Regions from separate parts of the Homo sapiens genome. Here region 2 is linked to region 1. Evidence: promoter capture Hi-C in human tissues and cell types (Jung and others, 2019). All regions are on one chromosome and are shown on one strand. Each heading gives the region's core, a stretch centred on a gene start or on the middle of the fragment in contact. The rest is flanking DNA. Distances are from core to core; before and after follow the strand shown.

The links. The method cuts DNA at HindIII sites, captures the fragments that hold promoters and counts their contacts. A contact is called where the count stands out against the background at its distance.
Region 2: a fragment that was not itself captured here is called in contact with the fragment with the promoter of PNLIPRP1 in region 1 in 2 of the 25 tissues and cell types used here (H1 embryonic stem cells and mesendoderm cells).

Annotation. Positions count from the first base shown.
Region 1 is chr10:116,587,902-116,595,323 of GRCh38, forward strand. It overlaps PNLIPRP1 (pancreatic lipase related protein 1), which reads left to right and starts at 3,058. Exons shown (of 13, transcript NM_006229.4): 1 at 3,058-3,094; 2 at 3,229-3,277; 3 at 3,870-4,024; 4 at 4,515-4,640; 5 at 6,829-6,963. The coding sequence starts at 3,229. RefSeq lists a silencer at 562-766. The HindIII fragment of the contact is 3,195 bases long and covers 685-3,879 here.
Region 2 is chr10:116,534,177-116,541,598 of GRCh38, forward strand. It overlaps the pseudogene RNU6-1090P. Among named protein-coding and RNA genes, the nearest start is that of PNLIP, 8.0 kb to the right of the region's middle. The HindIII fragment of the contact is 9,042 bases long and covers 1-7,234 here.

The sequences.
Region 1 (7,422 bases), core at 1,808-4,307:
TCCAACTGGCACCAGGGTTTGTCTGGCCTCGGTGAGATCTACCAGCGGTCATCAAGGACTTTGAGAACTCTAGGTGAAACTCAGAAGCTGAGTTCACTTCCCACAGACAGGTATCTCTAATAAAAGAAAAAGAAATCAATAGCTGACTAATGATGAGGCAAGTTCTTGTACCCTACTTCCATTACAACACACAGAGGGAGAGTCTGCCAGTTCATGGGATATTTAGAAACATAGTTCAATGTAATACAGTCTGATTCTAGGCTCTGGAAGAGATTTAAAAACCAGCTTTCTCAAAACAAACATTTCTCTAAAATTAAGGGACTCCGAAAACCCACCTTGAACCCAACTCTATCATTCCCCCAGAATTAAAATTGAAGGAGCAAACAAGGACAGAGCTGATTGCCTGAAGGAAAGCAGATATTTGGGCTTCATCTACACATGTATGTATAACAGATAATGGCTGGTGACTTCATTCTTTACTTTTGTGACCTTCAATGAGTCATACGTCTTGAAGACCTGAGAGCTGTCTGGTGGAAATGAAGTCATGGTTTCAAAAAGAGATCCACAGATTTGTATGCCTATGAATCCTTACTTGTGACCCTGAAACTGGATGTAAGTTCAATCAAAATATTCCAGTTGTTGGCCAGACGCAGTGGCTCACGCCTGTAATCCCAGCACTTTAGGAGGCCGAGGCGGGCGGATCACTAGGTCAGGAGATCGAGACCATCCTGGCTAACACGGTGAAACCCCGTCTCTACTAAAAATACAAAAAAATAGCTGGGCGTGGTGGCGGGCACCTGTAGTCCCAGCTACCTGGGAGGCTGAGACAGGAGAATGGCATAAACCCAGGAGGTGGAGCTTGCAGTGAGCCGAGATCGCGCCACTGCACTCCAGCCTGGGTGACAGAGCAAGACTCCATCTCAAAAAAAAAAAAAAAAAAAAAAAGAAAAGAAAAGAAAAAAAGAAATTCCAGTTGTTATTGTTGTTTGAAAGACTCACCCAGAAATCTTTCCATCTGGTGTGGAATGAATAAATTGTCTGACAGCCTGTGAAGGAGAAGCAGCTTGAACCTCAGCCTTGCTAGAGGCTTAGTCTAATTAAATCCCCTAGAGCATTTAAACAGGAGCCAGTGCATTGGAGCACAGTGTATATTGACTGATGCACGGAGTTTCCTCATTGTCTTAGGAAAGGGTATGCTCGAACCTGGTGCTGTGTGCTAAAGAATAGTAACAGTGAGTGCAACAGGTGCTGCTGTCTCTGAATTCCAGGCCTGGCTTGGGTTCCTGTATTGGTTAGCTACTGCTGCATAACAAACAATCACCAATTCAGTGGCTTAAAGCACTGAATTAAAGCATTTATCCATGCTCAAAAATCTGAGTTTGCTGGGTGGTTCTTCTGGTCTTGGCTGGATTTACTCATGCCTCTGTGGTTACAGTGGGTTGAGTAGGCAGTGCCACTAATCTTGGCTGGGTCCTTTACATACTTGGGGGACAGCTGGCTTTGAGTTGTTCAAAGATGTTGCTGTTACCACACTTAATGACCAAATCAAGTCATACCATGTCTAGCTCAGATTCAAGAGGTGGAGAAATAAACTCCACTTCTTGATGGAAGGAGCTGCAAGATCACATTGCAAAGGGTGTGTGTACAGGAGGAAGGGATGAAGAACTCTGACCACCTTCCCAGTCCATCACCAAGTCTAGCCTGTTTCTCCATCCTGGGGATGCCTGGAAGTAGGGAGGAAACAGGTCAAGGGCCAAGAGGGTTTTCACATTTTCTCTTTTGACTCATTCTGTGTATCCCTCTTGTTCTACATGGTTGACATCCAGTGAAGCTTGCTGATTACTAGCTCAACACAACTGAATATTCAACAACTCTGTACAGCCTGAATTCAAATCTTACCTCATCACTCGTTAGTCGTGTGACTTTTTAGGCAATTTACTTATCTCTCTGTGCCTCAGTTCCCACATTTATAAAGAGAGGCTTATGGGATTGTTTTAAAACTTATTAGGTAATACACGTAAGGTGCTTGGAATTCTGACTGTACTTGGTAAGGCTTCGTAACAGTTGGCAGCTATTCTTTATGATTCCAGGAGTCCTTTCCATTTTCTTAAGAGGAAGGCCCTTAGGCCTGCACCCTTGTGTTTTGGTTATTTAAGATTGAGAACTTTGACACCGAGGCATATTTAACTTGGCAAGGGGAGGCACTCATGGTGTTTGCTTTGTGAAGGCTTATCTGCCTTGCTGTGTGAACTGGCTGGGCTGTTCACAGATGCAGAGGTCTCTGGTTATATCATGATGGCTTTACAGGGTCCAAGAATTATCTGCAGGTGTGCAACCTTCAGAGGACCTGGGGAAACTCAACAGACATGACATGGGCCTCTGGGGGCTCCTGAACCCAACTATTGAGATTACAGTGGCATAATGCAATCATTGCTATTGTTTTAAAGTGTTGTCTTTTGGATTGGTTCATTGCATAGCAATATATAACTGGAATAGGCAGTTAATGGGAGGATTGTGGTCAGAAGCTACTGTGAGGGCTGTTGAATTTTTCTCCAAAGCTCAGATGCCCAGTATTCCTAGTCTTCGAAAGAGAGAGAGGAAGATTGAGAGAGAGAGAGAGAGAGAGAGAGAGAGAAGAAGTTTTCTTAATCAGAGATTTCTCTTTACTTTCAACTAATTGCAGGTATTTTCATCTATTCTAAATGAGAAATACTATCCTCTATCATTAGGGTTTGCTGCTGTGTCCCTATTGAGACTTGTAAACTATTTGGTGATGAAATAGAAAACTGAAAAGTGAGGGCCCATTCAGCTCACAAGTACATGCATAGTTACATAGGTACAAGGTTGGTGACTTCACTCCCTGCTTTAACCAAGCATTCTGTCATATTTCCAGACTTGTGGGAAGACTTGACAGCTATTATTAATCTTGTTTTGTGTATTTGGGCAGATTAAAGTATTAAGTGCGCACAGCATGGGCTATAATCACCTGCTGTTTTCTTGAAGTAGTGTCCAAATGATAAGGCTGGAATATATATTTTTAGAAAGGGCTGGACACTCGATCCGGTGGGAGGGAACATCTGGAACATTAGACAGGGTAAGCCACCTTTGCAACTCCTTTCCCCCTGCTGTGACGTACAGGTGAGGTAAACAGTACTGAAGTCCAGGGCGTCGGTGCTCACTGCTCTGGCAATGCCCGGTGAGACTGAATTATGTTTAAATTTATTGTAGATGCTGATCTTCTGGACAATCACACTTTTCCTGCTGGGAGCAGCCAAAGGTAAGAAACACCACTCCTGCCCCGTAGGAAGGGCTTAAACTTAAGCTCTCAGCCCTGGCCAGAGAAAGCTTTAACTGTGGCAGGGCTCCCAGCAGCTCCAGGGTACCAGAGAGAAGATGTGGGCTGACACTCTGCCTGGGAGAGTAGGCTGGGCAGTTTAAGGGAGACCTGTTTCTGGGGATCCCCCCAGTGGCCTACCTTCATGCTCGGGGTGCCCAAGGCCAGACATTTCTAGGTAAAGCATGAAACATCTGCCTGAGTTAACATATTGACTTATCAATGCCCATGATCACATTGGTCAAATAAATGTATCAGAAGAGCTAGGAATGGGACTTAGAACTTTCCAGTTTTGAGGGTAGTTCTAAACAAAGGCTCCAGTGGTGTCCCTGTGGGATTCAATGGGACTGATACTACTACCGGCCAGTAGTAGGTGGGCACTGGGGTCAAGAAGAGAGTGGGAGGGGTTGCAGTAGGTTCATCCATTGTCTTCAGACTGTCCCTGAATAGAAGAGTGACCAGGCCCGAACAGCAGTGACACCCCAGAGCACACCTTGAGAGCAAATCCTTGAGCAGATTCAACCTTTCTCTGTAGGAAAAGAAGTTTGCTATGAGGACCTCGGGTGCTTTTCTGACACTGAGCCCTGGGGCGGGACAGCAATCAGGCCCCTGAAAATTCTCCCCTGGAGCCCTGAGAAGATCGGCACCCGCTTCCTGCTGTACACCAATGAAAACCCAAACAACTTTCAAGTGAGACCTCTGTCATTTAAATGTCACTGTAACTGGCACGGGGCTATGCCCACCCTGCAGACCATGAATACCTTATCTCTGTGCCCTCTTCCTCCACCATGCCCCACCCCATCCCTCAAGCTGCCCCCCAGACCTAGCTAGACCTAGACAGAGCAGGTCTTTAGTAATGTTGGCTTGAATGAATGAATGGTTCACATTTGCCAGAACCTCTAGCTACTGTGTGATTCTGGTCTGGGGCAAACAGCTTACTGTCTAACAAAAACCACAGGGAAGGTAAAACCTCAAACCACAATCCAGGCCTAGTGGAAGCAGTGATTACTCACCTGGAGAGATGGGGCAAGAAAAGGGAGATCAGGGTGGGCTTCATGGAAGAAGTGGCTTTTTGCTAAGCTTTGAAAAGTAGAGGCATTGGCGCAGGCGGAGATGAGGAAGGAAAAAGGCCTGTGAGGCTGGGCTGCGAAAACATGAAGCACTTCTGCGTCTGTCACAGATTCTCCTCCTCTCTGATCCATCAACAATTGAGGCATCAAATTTTCAAATGGACAGAAAGACCCGGTTCATCATCCATGGCTTCATAGACAAAGGAGATGAGAGCTGGGTGACAGACATGTGCAAGGTAGGAGCCAGCTCTGATCCCTGTGGCCAGCTGAGGCCAACACTTCTGCTAACATCTCTGCATCACTTTATGCACTCAAGAAATCTTTACATATTAGGTAACTTTATGCAATTAAAATGCTTCTCTTCACAAAAATTAAAATGCCTTTCCATGTTTCCGCACTACATCTGCACACTGAAGCAACCACATTTGCTGTTAGAAAAGTACTCCTACTACCTAATTTCTGGTTAAACCAAGGCCTGATGTTTTCTGCTTCCATTTGTAGTGAGGGTACTTTGTATCCTATAAGCGAGGGACTATAGGGGTTTCTTTGTTCAAATTTTTCCCACATCCCTGAGAGGCTGACATGTGTTGCTGTGACCACTTAATTGATCCCAGCACTTTGGGAGGCCAAGGTGGATGGATCACCTGAGGTCAGGAGTTCGAGACCAGCCTGGCGAACATGGTGAAACCCTATCTCTACTAATGATACAAAAATCAGCCTGTTGTGGTGGCAGGCTCTTGTAGTCCCAGCTACTTGGGAGGCTGAGGCAGGAAAATTGCTTGAACCCAGGAGGCAAAGGTTGCAATGAGCCAATATTGTGCCACTACACTCCAGCCTGGGCAACAGAGTGAGACTCCATCTCAAAAAAAAAAAAAAAAGAAAACTAAGATTAAGTTACTACAATGACAGAATAGAAAGTGTCACCTACATGTAATATAGGTCAGAAGGAGAGCAACAGAAGAATACACACATGTGCACACACACACATACATACATGGACATGTGTGCAACTTGTGCATACACACACAAACACACACACATGTGCGTGCAATATACCACAATATACCATCATCCTTTCTATTTATGTGGAGACTAGTTCAATCGATTTTTCTGTCACCTAAGAATTTACCTACCCCAGGAGCCTGCCTTCCACACATACATTAATAACACCAACCAGTAATGTCAAAAGGAAAAATTACAAACCCAGAAAATTAAAGTCATTCTGCACTTGCCCTTGGTTTAACAGGCATTTCACTCTTGGCACCTTTCCTGTCCTATCATTAATAAGCATCTTATTGATACAGTTTATACTCCAAATTCTCCAGGCTTGTGAAAGTTTCCTCAGGATTGCTTGAAAATGAAAGTCCTGGCCAGGTGCGCAGTGGCTCATGCCTGTAATCCCAGCACTTTGAGAGGCCGAGGCGGGTGGATCACCCGAGGTCAGGAGTTCAAGACCAGCGTAGCCAACATGGTGAAACCCTGTCTCTACTAAAAGTACAAAAATTAGCCAGGTGTGGTCGCAGGCGCCTGTAGTCCTAGCTACTCAGGAGGCTGAGGCAGGAGAATTGCTTAAATTCGGAGGCAGAGGTTGCAGTGAGCTGAGATCGCGCCACTGCACTCCAGCCTGGGCGACAGAATGAGGCTGTCTCAAAAAAAAAAAAAAAAAAAGAAAGAAAAAAAGAAAAGAAAAGAAAAGTCCTGAGGAGAAAACTCCCACTATCTCTGTGCATGTGATCACACATATTAGTATACTATATGTGGAATGATTCCAAGTGCATTTTAAATTTATAGTACCATTTTAAATTCAAGCTGGTAATATGTACTGCCTGGCAGAACTCCTAAAGATATATCAGCTCCTTTGACATCCAGGAAGACATTTTCCTTCCAGAATTCTTCAATCTCTTTTAAATCAGTACAGTTCTATTTTTCAAATATCTACATGTGTCTACTCCATGAAGTACTGTGTCATCGTGACTATAAAAATAGTGAAACTTCTCTCTCACTTTCCAGCAGCCTGGGGCATCGCCAAGAGCCTGAAAGGACCCCTTACAGTCAAATCCACAAGGTCATTTAGACACTGGCCACCGGAGATTGCACCTAAGACTTTTCCTTTTCAAAACAGGACTCTTTTCATGATGCAATTGTTTTTCCCTTACTAACCAACCTTACTGAATTTGGTTGAAGGAAACCAGAGAGTAGCCAGCTTCCAATTAATCTGCAAGCTGGAGGGGGAATCAGTTTGCCTTTCTCATAGCATTCACCCTGAAGGATAACTCCTAATTACCAACAGGATTCCCTAACAGAGTCTAGTTTATCTCATGCCCTAGCTAGGAGAAGAGAGAAGTGGCCATTTCTGAGCCCTGGCTGGATAAGGTTTCCCCTGCTCCCATTATCTCCCCAACCCCACTATCTCCCCAACACCAGAAACTGTTCGAGGTGGAGGAGGTGAACTGCATCTGCGTGGACTGGAAGAAGGGCTCCCAAGCCACCTACACACAGGCTGCCAACAACGTGCGAGTGGTGGGCGCCCAGGTGGCCCAGATGCTCGACATCCTCTTGGTGAGTCAGCTGGCTGGCCTATGTGAGGAGGGAAGCAGTGCCTGCTGGTCTCTGTTTGGTAGAGATGCAGCTGAGAGTTATGGATTAAAGAAGGACAAAGAATTGATATCCAGACCTTACTTCTAAAACTCTGAAATTTGCCTTCATAATGACACGCCAGTGGAAGCAAAAATAAGAATCGCTAACACTTAGAAAGTGGTTTTTTAAAAATCATCTTCAATTTACAGATAAAGAAACTGAGGCCCAGAAAGTTTAACTAGTTTGCTCCCAAAGTCATAAAGCAAATGAATAGAAGACCTGCCTTTTGATCCAGACCATCTAGCTTCAGAATTCACCCACAACACCAGGTGGGCTCTGTTTCGCGTGAAACACAGCATGGCCAGAGAGAGCCACAGAGAGCCAACGGACAGTACGTGCAATTGGCATGTACCAGCTCTACTGGCCTGGTGGTATGGGTCC
Region 2 (7,422 bases), core at 1,464-3,963, 54 kb before region 1:
GAAGCCTAATAATATAGTTATATGCTCTTTTTGTTGGGTTTCTTTCATTTAGTTTAATATCTCTGAGATTTGTCTATGATGCTACATGTACTCATAGTTCATTTCTTTATATAACTGAGTAGTATTCCACTGTATGAATATTGCATAATTTTTTTCAACTTTTATTTTAGATTCAGGGATACATGTGCAGGTTTATTTCCTGGTTATATTGCATGATGCTGAGGTTTGAGTATGAGTGATGCCGACACCCAGGTACTAAGCATGGTACCCAACAGTCAGTTTTCCAACCCTTGCCCCCCACCATTCCCCTGTCTAATAGTCCCCAGTGTCTATTTTTGCCATCTTTATGTCTACGAGTCACTGAGGTTTAGCTCCCACTTATAAATGAGAACATGTGGTATTCAGTTTTCTGTTTCTGTGTTAATTCACTTAGGATAATGGCCTCCAGCTGATCCATGTTGCTGCAAAGGACATGCTTTCATTCCTTTTTATGGTTGCTATTTTTTACTTCTTATTTGTTTACTTTTAAACTTTTATTTTAGGTTCAGGGGTACATGTGCAGGTTTGTTATTAATATACAGGTAAACTGGGTTGCAAGGGTTTGGTGTGCAGATTATTTCGTCACCCAGGAAGTAAGCATAGTTAACAGATACAGTTTTTCCATCCTCACCCTCCTTCTACCCTCCACCCTCAAATAGGCACCAGTGTCTGTTGTTCCCTTCTGTGTGTCCATATGTACTCAAAATTTAGCTCCCACTTATAAGTAGTATTTGGTTTTCTGTTTCTTTGTGAGTTTGCTTAGGATAATGGCCTCCAGCTGCATCCATGTTGCTGCAAAGGACATGATCTCATTCTTTTTTATGGCTGCATAGTATTACATTGTGTATATGTACCATTTTTTTTAATCCAGTCTACCATTGATGGGCATTTACGTTGATTCCATGTCTTTGCTATTGTGAATAGTGCTGCGATGAACATATATATGCATGTGTCTCTATGGTGGAATGATTTATATTCATTCGGGTATATACCCAAGAATGGGATTGTTGGGTCGAATGGTAATTCTGTTTTAAGTTCTTTGAGAAATTACCAAACTTCTTTCCACAATGGCTGGAATAATTTACATTTCACCAGCAGTGTGTAAGCATTTCCTTTTCTCCACAATCTCGCCAATATCTGTCTGATATTTTTGACTTTTTGATAATAGCCATTACGGCTGTTGTGAGATGGTATCTCATTGTGGTTTTGATTTGCATTTCTCTAATGATTAGTGATGTTGAGCATTTTTTCCTATGCTTGTTGGCCACATGAATGTCTTCTTTTGAAAAGTGTCAGTTCATAATCTTTGCCCACTTTTTATAGTGTTGTTTGGTTTTTGCTTGTAAATTTGTTTAAGTTCCTTATAGATTCTGGATATTAGACCTTTGTGGGATGCATAGTTTGCAAATATTTTCTTCCATTCTGTAGGGTGACTGTTTATTCTGTTGATAGTTTCTTTTGCTGTGCAGAAGCTCTTAGCTTAATTAGGTCCCATTTATAAATTTTTGTTTCCATTGCAATTACTTTTGGCATCTTGATCATGAAGTCTTTGCCATGTCCTATGTCCATAATGACATTTTCTCAGCTGTCTTCCAGGGTTTTTGTAGTTTTACATTTAAGTCTTTAATCCATCTCGAGTTAATTTTGGTATACGGTATAAGGAAGGGATCAAGTTTCAATCTTTTGCATATGGCTAGCCAGTTATCCCAGTATCATTTATTGAATAGGGAATCCTTTCCCCACTGCTTGTTTTTGTCAATTTTGTCTAAGATCAGATGGTTGTAGGCGTGTAGCATTATTTCTGGGTTCTCTATTCCATTCCATTGATCTATGTGTCTGTTTTCATACCAGTACCGTGCTGTTTTGGTTACTGTAGCCTTGTAGTATATTTTGAAGTCAAGTAATGTTATGCCTCCAGCTTTGTTCTTTTTGCTTAGGACTTACTTGGTTATTCAGATTCTTTTTTGATTCCATATGAATTTTCTAATTACATGAATAATGTTGATAGGAGTAGCATTGAATCTGTAAATTGCTTTGAGTAATATGGCCATTTTAACAATATTGATTCTTCCTAATTCTCGTTGGAGAGGTCTTTCACGTCTTTGGTTAGCTATATTCCTAGGTATTTTATTCTTTTTGCAGCTATTGTGAATGGGAATGCACTCTTGATTTGGCTCTCAGCTTGAATGTGATTGGTGTTAGGAATGCTACTGATTTTTGTACATTGATTTTGTATCCTGAAACTTTGCTGAAGTTGTTTATCAGATCAAGGAGCCTTTGGGCAGACACCATGGGGTTTGCCAGGTATTGAATAATATCCTCTGCAAACAAGCATAGTTTGACTTCCTCTCATTATTTGAATACCTTTTATTTCTTTCTCTTGCCTAATTGCTCTGGTTAGGACTTCCAGAACTATGTTGAATAGGAGTGGTGAGAATGAGCATCCTTGTCTTGTTCCACTTTTCAAGGGAAATGTTCCAGCTTTTGTCCATTCAGTATGATGTTGACCATGGGTTTGTCAAAGATAGCTCTTATTATTTTGAGATATGTTTCTTCAATACTTATTTTATTGAGGGTTTTTAACATGAATGGATGTTTAATTTTATCAAAATATTTTCTGCATCTATCAGGATGATTATGTGGTTTTCACATGGACACAAACAACTATGACACTACTCTTGTGACTTAGGACCATTGTTAAGTAATACAAAGCTTCCCTGAACAAAACCACTGGATACCCCAACAGTTGATCTGATGACCCAGACAACTGATTACCAAGTGACTAACACATAGGTAGCATGTCCAGCCTGGAAATGCTGAACAAAGCGATGATTCATGTCCCAGCCAGGAGGGAGTAGGACAGTGCAAAATTTGATAATGCTACGCAGAAGAGCATGCAATCTAAAGCATATGAAGTGTTTATTTTATTTCTAGAATTTTCCAATTAATATTTTCAAACTGTGTTTGGCCACAGGTAACTGAAACTGCAGAAAGAGAAACCATTAATAAAAACAGACTGCTGTATTTAATGTTGTCATAGTTTAGTTAATGAACACTTGGGTTACTTTCATCTTGGGCTATTATGAATAAAGCTGCTATGACTGTTCATGGAAAAGTCTTTTTGTGGATATATGCTTATACCTAGTTGTGGAATTGCTGTTTTTTATGTAAGTGTCGTTTACCTTTATAGGAAACTGTCAAACTTTTCCAAACTGTTTGTCAATTTGATACTCCCACTAGCACTTTATGCACTTTATGAAATTTCCAATTGTTCTACACCTTTGGAATTGTCAGATATTTGCCATCTTACTGGGCTGTAATATTTCCTTGTGATTCTGTTGTGCATTTTTCCAATGACTAAAGGTGTTGAGCGTATTTTTGCATGCTTGTTAGCCACCTATGCATCTTTTTTGTGAAGTTATTGATTAAATATTTTTCTTCTTTCTTTCTTTCTCTCTCTCTCTCTCTTTCTTTCTTTCTCTTTCTTTTTCTTTCTTTTTTTTAGATGGAGTCTAGCTCTGTCACCAGGCTGGAGTGCAGTGGCATGATCTTGACTCACTGCAACCTTCACCTCCCAGGTTCAAGCAATTGTACTGCCACAGCCTCCCAAGTAGCTGGGATTACAGGCACGTGCCGCCATGCCCAGCTAATTTTTGCATTTTTAGTAGAGATGTGGTTTCACCATGTTGGCCAAGATGGTCTCAATCTCCTGACCGTGTGATCTGCCCACCTGGACCTCCCAAAGTGCTGGGATTACAGGAGTGAGCCACTGCACCCGGCCTGATTAAATATTTTTCTATCTTTGTAGGTTGTTTGTTTTACTATCATGTTTGTAAGAATTATTTTTATATTCTGGATACAAGTTCTTTGTTAGGAGTGTATTGTAGACACTTTTTCCAAGTCTGTGTCTTGCCTGAAAAGGCAATGAAAATTTTCTTAACAATATCTTTTGAAGAATAGGGTTTTAGTTCTTGTTTAGACAGCACATATACTAAAATTGGAATGATACAGAGAAGATTAGCATGACCCTGCACAAGGATGAAGAGTAGGTTTTAAATTTTCATAAAGTCCAGTTTATCTGTTTTTTTATAGAGTGATTTTTATGTTTTGTCTAAGAAATCTTTGCTTATTCTAAGGTAGCAAATATTTTTCTCCTCTATTTTCTACTAGAAGATTTTGGTTTTGGCTTTTACATTTAGGTCTGTGACTTTCAGCACACTAAATACAGTAGTCCCTTCTTATCCATGTTTCTCTTTTTGCAGGTTCAGTTACATATGGTCAACCATAGTCCAAAAATGTTAACTGGAAAATTCCAGAAATAAACAATTCATGCATTTTAAATTGCATGCTGTTCTGTGTAGCATGATCAAATTTCACAGTGCCCTACTCCCTCCTGCCTGGGACATGAATCATCCCTTTGTCCAGCATTTCCAGGCTGGACATGCTACCTAGGCATTAGTCACTTGGTAATCAGTTGTCTTGGTTATCAGATCAGCTGTTGTGGTATCCAGTGCTGTTGTTCAGTTAAGCCTCATTTTACTTAATAATGGCCCTCAATCACAAGAATAGTGATACCTATGTCAGTCACCTCACTTTATCACCACACATAGGCATTATATCATCTCATATCATCACAAGAAGGGTGAGTAGAGTATAATAAGTTATTAAGACAGACAGAGAGAGAGGGATGGAAAGAAAGTGAGAGAGACCACATGTACATCAATTTTATGGCCGTACACTGTTCTATTTTATTATTAGTTATTGTTGTTACTCTCTTACTGTGCCTAATTTATAAATTAAACTTTGTTATAGTTATGTATGTATAGAAAAAACATAGTATATATAGGTTCAGTATTATTCACAGTTCTAGGAATCCACTGGGGTCTTAGAATATACTCCCCATGAATAAAGGGGAACTACTGTAAGCCATTCCATTGTCTTTGGCTTGCTGTTTCCATTGAAAAGTCTGCAGTCATTCCTTCTTTGTTTTCCCTGTATCTTTCTCCCCCTGTCTGCTTTTAAGTTTTTTTTTTCTCTATTATTGGGTTTCACAGTTTTACCATTTTTTGTGTTTTTTTTTGGTTTTCATTGGATTTATCCTACTTGATATTGTTCAACTTCTTGGATACATAGATTCATTTTTACAAATCAATATTGGATATTTTCAGCCATGATTTCTCCAATTTTATTTAACACTTGACCCAGGACTGCAATTAGATGCATGTGAAACTGCTTATTATTACCCCAAAGATCATGAAGACTCTGCAGATTTTTCAGCCCTTTTTTCCCCTCTCTGAACTTGGCAGTGTGAATGGTTTTTCTATTGCCATGTCTCAGTTTTCTGATATTCTCTTCTGTATTTCTTAATATGCTAATCTTGCCTAATAGTTACTATTTGTCTTCTCATTATGCCTATGTTTTCCTTTAGCTCTTAATCTTATTTATAATAGCTGTTTTAAAGTACTCATCTGTTAATATTATAATCCCTATCAATTCTAGGTCTCCTTCTATTGACTAGTGAGTCATATTTTTCTGCTTCTTTGTATGCCAAATAATTTGATAATGGATACTGAATACCAATAATTTTACATTTTTGCAGATCAGATTGATGCTTGAAGATTTGTTTTTATGCTTTCTTATGGCAGATTGAGATTAACCTTTATTCTAGGGATATTTTAGTCCTCCTAAAGCATGGCCTTTTGGGGGTGTCTACTAAATGCTCTGATTATACAATAAAATCTCTTACTCTGTTGGACCGAATGTCTTCCATCATGTGTGAGCTCCAGGAGTTGTTTGGATTACAAAGTCCACCAGCAAATTGTTCTTTCTCATATGGTTGTTATCTGACCAGTCTCATGGAATCTTATGCTTTGTAAGCATGTTAGTATTATTCAAGGACTCAAGTGGACTCCTGTGCCAGTTTCTGGAGCTTTTCATATTTGTAGCTTCTCCTCTTCAGTACTCTGCTCTGCTCATTCCAAATACTTTGGCCTCACTGAAATCTGATCTTCATCTCCTCAGCCTGTTGAGTCTACCTTTCTCTTCTCAGATTCTCCCTCTCTCTGCTAGGGTCCTGGAAATGTCTCCAGACATATAGCTGAAGTAATTGGTGATCTCACCTCATTTGTTTTCCTTTTTCACTTATTTTAGTCTTGCATTGCTTATTGTCCAATCTTGGGAAACTTCATATATATTTTCCAGACTTTTAATTATTTATGGTAAAAGAGCAAGTCTGAAGCCAGTTGCCCCATCATGGCTAGAAGTGTAAATCCCTCAGCTTATAATTTTTGAAAGAGACTTTGCTTCATGCCTTACAAGGGTAGTTGTGGAATGCGCATGAATAACAACCTCTGGCTTAGCCTGCCCCTTTGTGAGCCTCCTTGTATAATTCATAATTGTTTGGTGCCTCAAACATCTTAGGTATGGAACAAATATATATATTTGGTACAAATTATTGTTAGTCGATTTTTTTTTCTTTTTGACTTTTCTCTTTTGTGCTTTCTCTTTTTTCACTTTCATTACACCTCTCAATAGTCATGCTGTGATCTTTGGGTCTGTTGAATTTTGCAACTCTTCCTATTTACTCTCTCTTCTTGTTCATTGGCACCTGGAAAAGTTTGTTATTCCATTCTTTAGTACTTTCAGTTGTCTCCCATTCCAAACCCATTGAGAGTGCATATTTTGAAAGAAGCTCATAAGGGGTGGAAGATGGGCTAAGTGGGTATACAACAGGGTTGACCGGAAACCACAGAGAAGCTAAGCAGATCTGTAAAGCTGTATTTGTGATGTAAAGAGAGTAAAGTTAATCTAGAATTGTGCAATACATTACAGCAGCCACTAGCCACATATGACCATTGATCAGTTGACATGTGACTAGTACCACATGTTAATATTGATATGATAATATTTTGTATGTATTGAATTATAAAAATCGTTAACATTATTTTCACTGGTTTCTTTTTGCATTTTAAATGTGGCTTGCTTATATTCCTATTGGGCAGTGCTAATCTAGAAAGCACAAGAGAGGGGAAGGGAAGTGAGGTTTTAAGAAAGACAGTACAATGACCAGTCTGCATTTTAGAACTGACTTTCTAACAGTGTATAGAGAACAGACAGAAAAGGAACAGTCTGAGGGCAAGGAAGGCAGTTAGACTACTGTGATGGCTCAGGAAAGACATGATTTGTCATATTCAGTATCACAAAAGTTGTATTTCTGTTTGATAAAATTACCATTTACTACATTAGTATTGGAAAGCAGACTATAAATAAAACAAAAAAATAGGCTATACAAAGCGTATTTGCATGAATTTGTTTTGGAAAGCAAATACCCAGTCTTACACACCTGTATATACATACTAATGCCCCCTGGTATTCATTCCTGAC